Regions from separate parts of the Homo sapiens genome. Here region 2 is linked to region 1. The links are contacts of gene promoters, found by promoter capture Hi-C in blood cells and fetal thymus (Javierre and others, 2016). All regions are on one chromosome and are shown on one strand. The core of a region is centred on a gene start or on the middle of the fragment in contact, and the rest is flanking DNA. Distances in the headings are between cores, read along the strand shown.

Region 1 (2,914 bases), core at 415-2,914:
CATAAAGAGGGACCCTCTCCTCCTCACCTCATCTCCAGCATTCCTGCTTCCTCGAGCTTCTCCAGGGAGAAGTAGGCGCATCTCACTAGAAAAAACAAGAAAGCAGCCCTTTGCTCATTCAACACTTACTAAGCAGATACTGTGCCCTGGGCACCCAGTTTCAGAAATGAGTAAAACACCGGCCTTGCCTTCAAGGAACTCAAGAGACCCTGCGGCAGCCACAAGTCTTACAGAGCAATTACCACCCTGGGTTGCAAGAGCCTAACGTGGGGTGGGGACGGGGGAGGTACAAAATGCTATCAGAGCTGGAGACGAAAGTCTCTAATACTCGGAGTGGGGCTGTGAAGGTGACTTTAAAGTTGTGCCTTGAAGGAGGCCAGGAGCGCACCAGGACAAGGCCATGGGAACCGCCGGTGCAAAGCAGGGAGACCTGGAACAGCAGGCTGGTGGGGACCAGTGACTGAACAGCACAGCGTGAACCCAAAGAGTGTTTGGCTTAAGGGTGGGGAGAGCTGAGCCGACTCCCTGAACTGCTAGGACTTAAACCTGAGAAGGCCCAGCAGCGTTTTCACTAGAGGATTGCTGGGGACAGATTTGTGACTTAGAAACTGAGCCGATGGAATGTGGACGACAGACCTGAGGGAAGAAAGACAGAGGACTCCAGGTTGCTCAGGAGGCTCATGGAACAGTGCAGGCTCCAGACCACGAGGCCTGAATTCTGGAAGTAGCAGCGGGGATGCAGGACGAGGAGCCGTTTTGTCTCATCAGGCACTCCAGAGGCAGGGACCCAGAACTTGGTTATGAAGTCAATGCGGGAGACTAGATAAGGGGAGGGACAGAGGAGTAAAGCATGGCAGCACTACAGAACCTGAGCCCGTGACTGAGAGAAGAGAGTTTGAAAAGCAAGTTTGCCAGGGAAGTTGGGCTGTGTGCTGGGCGACTTAGGTCGGAGGAGGCAAGACATTAAGAGTGGGGATGTTTCTCATCACCTGCAAAAGAGACGTTAAAGAGACGGTTCCTCCGGACCCCACTGGCAGGCACTGACAGAGCGGCTAGGACACAGGAGAGCAGGCCTGGGGGGCTCAGCCCTGCAAGACTCAGCCTAGAGCTGCATAGACCCCAGTCAAGTGTTCCCGCCCTTCTTGCTGCTTCCGTGCCCTATGGGGGTAGACACTGGAGGTGCAGTTAGGTCGCTGCGGGCAAGTTTTGACTCTTGCCTAAGGGTGCATCACAGAAGGGCCTCAGCTCCCTCCCCCAGCTCCACCCACAGCTCCACCCCCAGTTCGGCTCTGCTTCATTTCACCAGCATCTCCACCCCCAGCTCCTCCTCCGGCAGCTCCGCCCCAGCTGTTCCGCCCCCAGCTCTTCCTCCTCCCAGCACTTAACCAGTTCCACCCACAGCTCTTTCCCACAACTACGCCCTCCTCTTGCAGGCGGCTCCTCCAGAAGCTCTAACCCAGTTCCTGCTGCAGCCCCACCCTGCTCACCCTGCATCTCCAGTCCCAGCTCCGCCTCCTCTAGCCCCGTCCCGCTTCTCCTACCCCTCTGCCCACCCCAGCACCTTTCAGCTCTTTCCTCCAGCTCTGCACTAGCTCCTCCCCCACCATTCTCACCCGCCAGCCTTACTCCAGCTTGGCTCCCCCTTCTCCAGCAATTTCCCGCAGCCCCGCCCCATCTGCTCCCACACCTCTTTGCCACAGCCCCGCCCTGCTCCTCCTCCAGGAACGCCCGGCTTTCCCTCAGCTCCACGCTGCAGCTGAGCTGTGCACCAGGCCCTCCCACAGAGCTTTCTCGTGATTCCACCCTACACCTCCCCAAGCCCCCGCTCCCCTAAGCTGGTTCTCAGGAGTCCGAGGGGTCCTCCCGCAGCTGCTCCTCGCTCAGTTCTCCCATTGCCCCGCCCTGCTCTTCGCGGGGCTGCTTCCAAAGCCCCGACCTCAGCCAGCAGTTTCTCTCAGCCCCGCCCCTCCCTGCCCCGCCCCTCCCCTCCCTGCCCCGCCCCGCTTCTCCCGCGGCTGCTCCCAAAGCCCCGCCCTCGGCCCCCTCCCCAGCAGTTTCTCTCAGCCCCGCCCCACCCCGAGCCCCGCCCGCAGCCCCGACCTGCTTCTCCTGTGGCTGCCTCCAAAGCCCCGCCCCCAAACCTTCCCCAGCATTCTCAGCCCCCCCAGAGCCCCGCCTCTCCCAGCCCCGCCCTACTTCTCACGCAGCTGCTTTAAAAACCCCGCCCCCAGCCCCTCCCAGTGATTTCTTTCTCCCCCTCCCTCCTTCTCTCAGCGGACACCTGCCTCCCCCTGCTGATTCTCAAGAGTCCGCGAGCTCTTCCTGCAGCTTCTCCTCGCTCAGCTCTCCCACGGCCCTGCCCACAATGGTTTCTCTCAGCCCCGCCCGGCCCTGCCCCACACCCCGCCTCTTATCTCAGCCCCGCCCTCAACCCAGCCCCCAATTGTTTCTGTCAGTCCCGCTCGGCCCCTCCCCCAGCTCCGCCCTCCTCCTCTCAGCCCCGCCTCCACCCCCTCCCCAGCGGTTTCTCCCAGCTCCTCCCTGCTGGTATAGCAGCTCTGGGCCCAAAACTCCTGCCTGGTGTCCTCGTCCCACCCTTCCACTTACTCTTCCTCCCTCCCGTTCCTTTTCCTCCTTCCGGTTCTTCGTCGAGGCTGCCGGTCTCGAGGTCCCCTGGCCTTGGCCTGGTTGGCTGGCGCGCATCAGGGCCAGGTAAAGAGAATAGCGTCTCCTAGCAGCCAGGGCGTGCGTACGTGCGTGATGTCGTCAGTGCGTGTCTTCGAGAATGCGAGATTCATAATGTTTGCTGTCTATATGCATGGCTGAGTACGTGCCTCCCGCGTACGTGCGTGGTGTGCATACATGCGTGATTGCGCGCCCACGTACGTTCTTCGTGAAAGGGATGACGGGAGCT
Region 2 (2,914 bases), core at 115-2,614, 210 kb after region 1:
GCGCTCAGCAAAATCCAGAGTATGGGAAACTGGACAGAACACAAGGCATGTCTTCATTTTCAACAAATGAGTTTCAAAAAAAGGTAATGTGGGGGAATCTATAAATTACTTAAGGTGGCTATTAAGAACATAAACACAATGTATAGATCATATTTGCAAACCGATTCAAAGAAACTGCATTTTAACAGGAGCATATGTCCACCAGATACATGTGACAAATAAGTGAACATTTCATTATATTAATGACTTGCTTACATGTTTAGGAAAGATAATAATGTTGGCTTTATGTTTTATAAGAGAGTAGTTATCTTTAGAAATGCACTCTGATGTATTTGGAGATGAGATCACATGGTGTCTTGGATTTGCTCCACATTATTTCAGTTTCTGCTATGCGGAGTAGGTAGGGGTATAACTAGAACCAGATTGGCCATGAGTTGAAGATTATTGATACTGAAAGTCTGGTATATTAGATTAATTATAGTATTTACCCTATTATTAGGTGTATTTGAAAATGCTTGTAATGAAAATATTTTTGAAATAAATATGATATTTAATTTGAAATCCTAAGTGAAATGGATAATATTTTAGGAAAATAAGTACATGAACAAATTGATACAAAAAGAAATTCAAATCTTTAACCAAACAATAAAAAGTGAAACTAATCTAAGCTCAAGCCATCCTCAAATGTGGACAAGGCAGCTTCGGAGGCCAATTCTACATTGTTATCAGGTAAAGCTCAAAGCCACCTTAAGTAAACTCTTCCAAGGCATACGAAAAGTTGGGCAATTATTCAAATTATTTTCCCAAGCTAACCATTCTTCATTCAGGTACCAGAGGAGGACAGCACCGTGAAAACACTTGAGCCAAACTTCACTCACACAGAGGCAAATATATTAATTAAATTAGTAGCATATTCAACATAGAAGTGAATTAACGGATTGTGTCCAAGGAACAAAAACATGATTTAATATAAAACAATTTTCAGTTGTGATTTCCTACGTTATCGAATTAAGATTTTAAAAAGTGATCACTTTAGTAGGTATAAAAAAGCTTCTGGATGAAATTCTATACAAGTTAATGGTCAAAACATTTAGCAAAATAAGTTTAGCAGCATATTTTCTTTTCCTGAGATCAATGGACAACATACTTAAGTATGAAATGTTAGAAGAATTCTTGTCATGGACATAGGCTATAACCTCTATCTTTGGAAACTGCATGTAACATAAGGCAGGAGATATGGATATCAAAAGAAATCAGTATGAATATTGAACAGAAAGAGTTAATATTTGGTATGACAATATGATTATCTAGAAAATTCAAAGAAATGTGCACATGGAATAGTCAAATAACAGACTTCAGAATAATAGTATACAGGTTACTACAGTAAAATCAAAATCCTTGCAACCCAATGAAATAACCACTCAGAACAAGTAATAGAAAATACCCCATTCACAATGGCAACAAAATCCAGAAATTGTCTAATAAGACAGACAAACCATACAAGATCTTTATGGAAACAACTATGCAAATACTGATAGATTCGGGTCAAAAACTTCCCAGATAAATAGAGCCATATTCCATATCCCTTAATAGGGAACAGGCTATTGAAAAGATGTCAATTTTTCTTTATCCAAGATGTACAGATATAACGCTTAAAATTTAGCTGGCAATATGAACGTCAAGCTTGGGCTTCTGTCCTTCACTCCCAAAACGAACCCTGGAAAACTATAGAAGGAAGAATAAAATAACAAACAAACAGTATAAACAACAAAATCTAAACAACAAAACATGAGAAAGCTCTGAGGGAGAATGAAGACTGTATTTAACTGGTACCTGTAATCGAAGTGGCCAGAGTGTCAAGGAAGTTAGGGAGAGTCCATAGCTGGCATAGAAGGAAGATGACAGGATGTGTAGAAGGAAATGTTTAAATTTTTGCCCCTATTCCAGTGTGAAAATGTCAGGTGGCACCTGAGACCACAGGTGCCAGTAGTCTGGTTTCATTGAAACAGTAGTAGCTCCAGTCTGTGCTAATAACCACCTAAAACCACATTAATAGGTGAATTGGCTTAACTGAACATAAAGAATGGATTACAAATAGAGTGTTGAGCATTAGAATGAAACAGGCATAATGAGGTTAAGTATGATTTCTGATGCTGAATGAAAGTTTAAAAATGAAAATCACTGCACTGAGCTATGAAATGTTAGATAATTCCAATGGCAGAACTCCTTAGATTTCTAGCTGCTGGTCAGCCTACTCAATGTAAAAATAAATATTTTAGGGTAAAAGGTTTGCAAATTCAACCTCTGGCTGGGGAAGAGCTGCCCTGGGAAGGTGCGTGTCTTCTCCCAGAGGCCACTACAATCACAGCTCCTGCAGCCCCCCCACGGAGCACCTGGCCTGGGACCCGCAGCCATTCTCTGCAAGGGGTGCAGCTGGGCAAAGGCTCAGAGGTGACAGAAACAGAGTATCTGCCACCCATCACTGCATCGAAAGAGCCAGGAGTCAGGAGGAGGATCCTCCTGAGTGAGGACTGAAGGTCCACCCTCCCCACATAGAGGGGCCACAGAATCCAACTCAGCCCCTCCCGTCATTCCCTGGAAGACCCTGGCAATGTTGTCGTCCCGACCACACCCCTCTCCCGACTGCCACCTCATGGGACTCAGAGTCAGAGACTTGGTCTGAGGGGAGCAGAGAATGGGGGTCCAGGATCTGCCAGCCATCAAGGTCAGGACCCCGAGGGATGACTGAGGGTCCTCCACCCCCATTCCCAAACCCACCACCACCAAGACCTAAGCCCTGGGGGTCCCACCCCAATCCCTCCCCCTACCGCCCCCAATTCCTCCCCCTAAACCCCCGCACCCCACATCTTAACAACCACCCCCACCCAAATCCAGGCAGAACCCGTTTCTGCCC

The links. The method cuts DNA at HindIII sites, captures the fragments that hold promoters and counts their contacts. A CHiCAGO score of 5 or more calls a contact.
Region 2: a fragment that was not itself captured here is called in contact with the fragment with the promoter of EOLA1-DT in region 1 in 1 of 17 cell types (endothelial precursors); the score reaches 5.1 in endothelial precursors.

Annotation. Positions count from the first base shown.
Region 1 is chrX:149,538,088-149,541,001 of GRCh38, forward strand. EOLA1-DT (EOLA1 divergent transcript) reads right to left here and starts at 1,665. Exons shown (of 10, transcript NR_027455.5): 1 at 1,614-1,665; 2 at 637-819; 3 at 28-85. It also overlaps a transcript of EOLA1 not described here. RefSeq lists silencers at 1,076-1,155, 1,906-2,215, 2,226-2,295, 2,328-2,518. The HindIII fragment of the contact is 11,440 bases long and covers 1-2,914 here.
Region 2 is chrX:149,747,706-149,750,619 of GRCh38, forward strand. No RefSeq gene overlaps it. Among named protein-coding and RNA genes, the nearest start is that of HSFX1, 25 kb to the right of the region's middle. The HindIII fragment of the contact is 633 bases long and covers 1,049-1,681 here.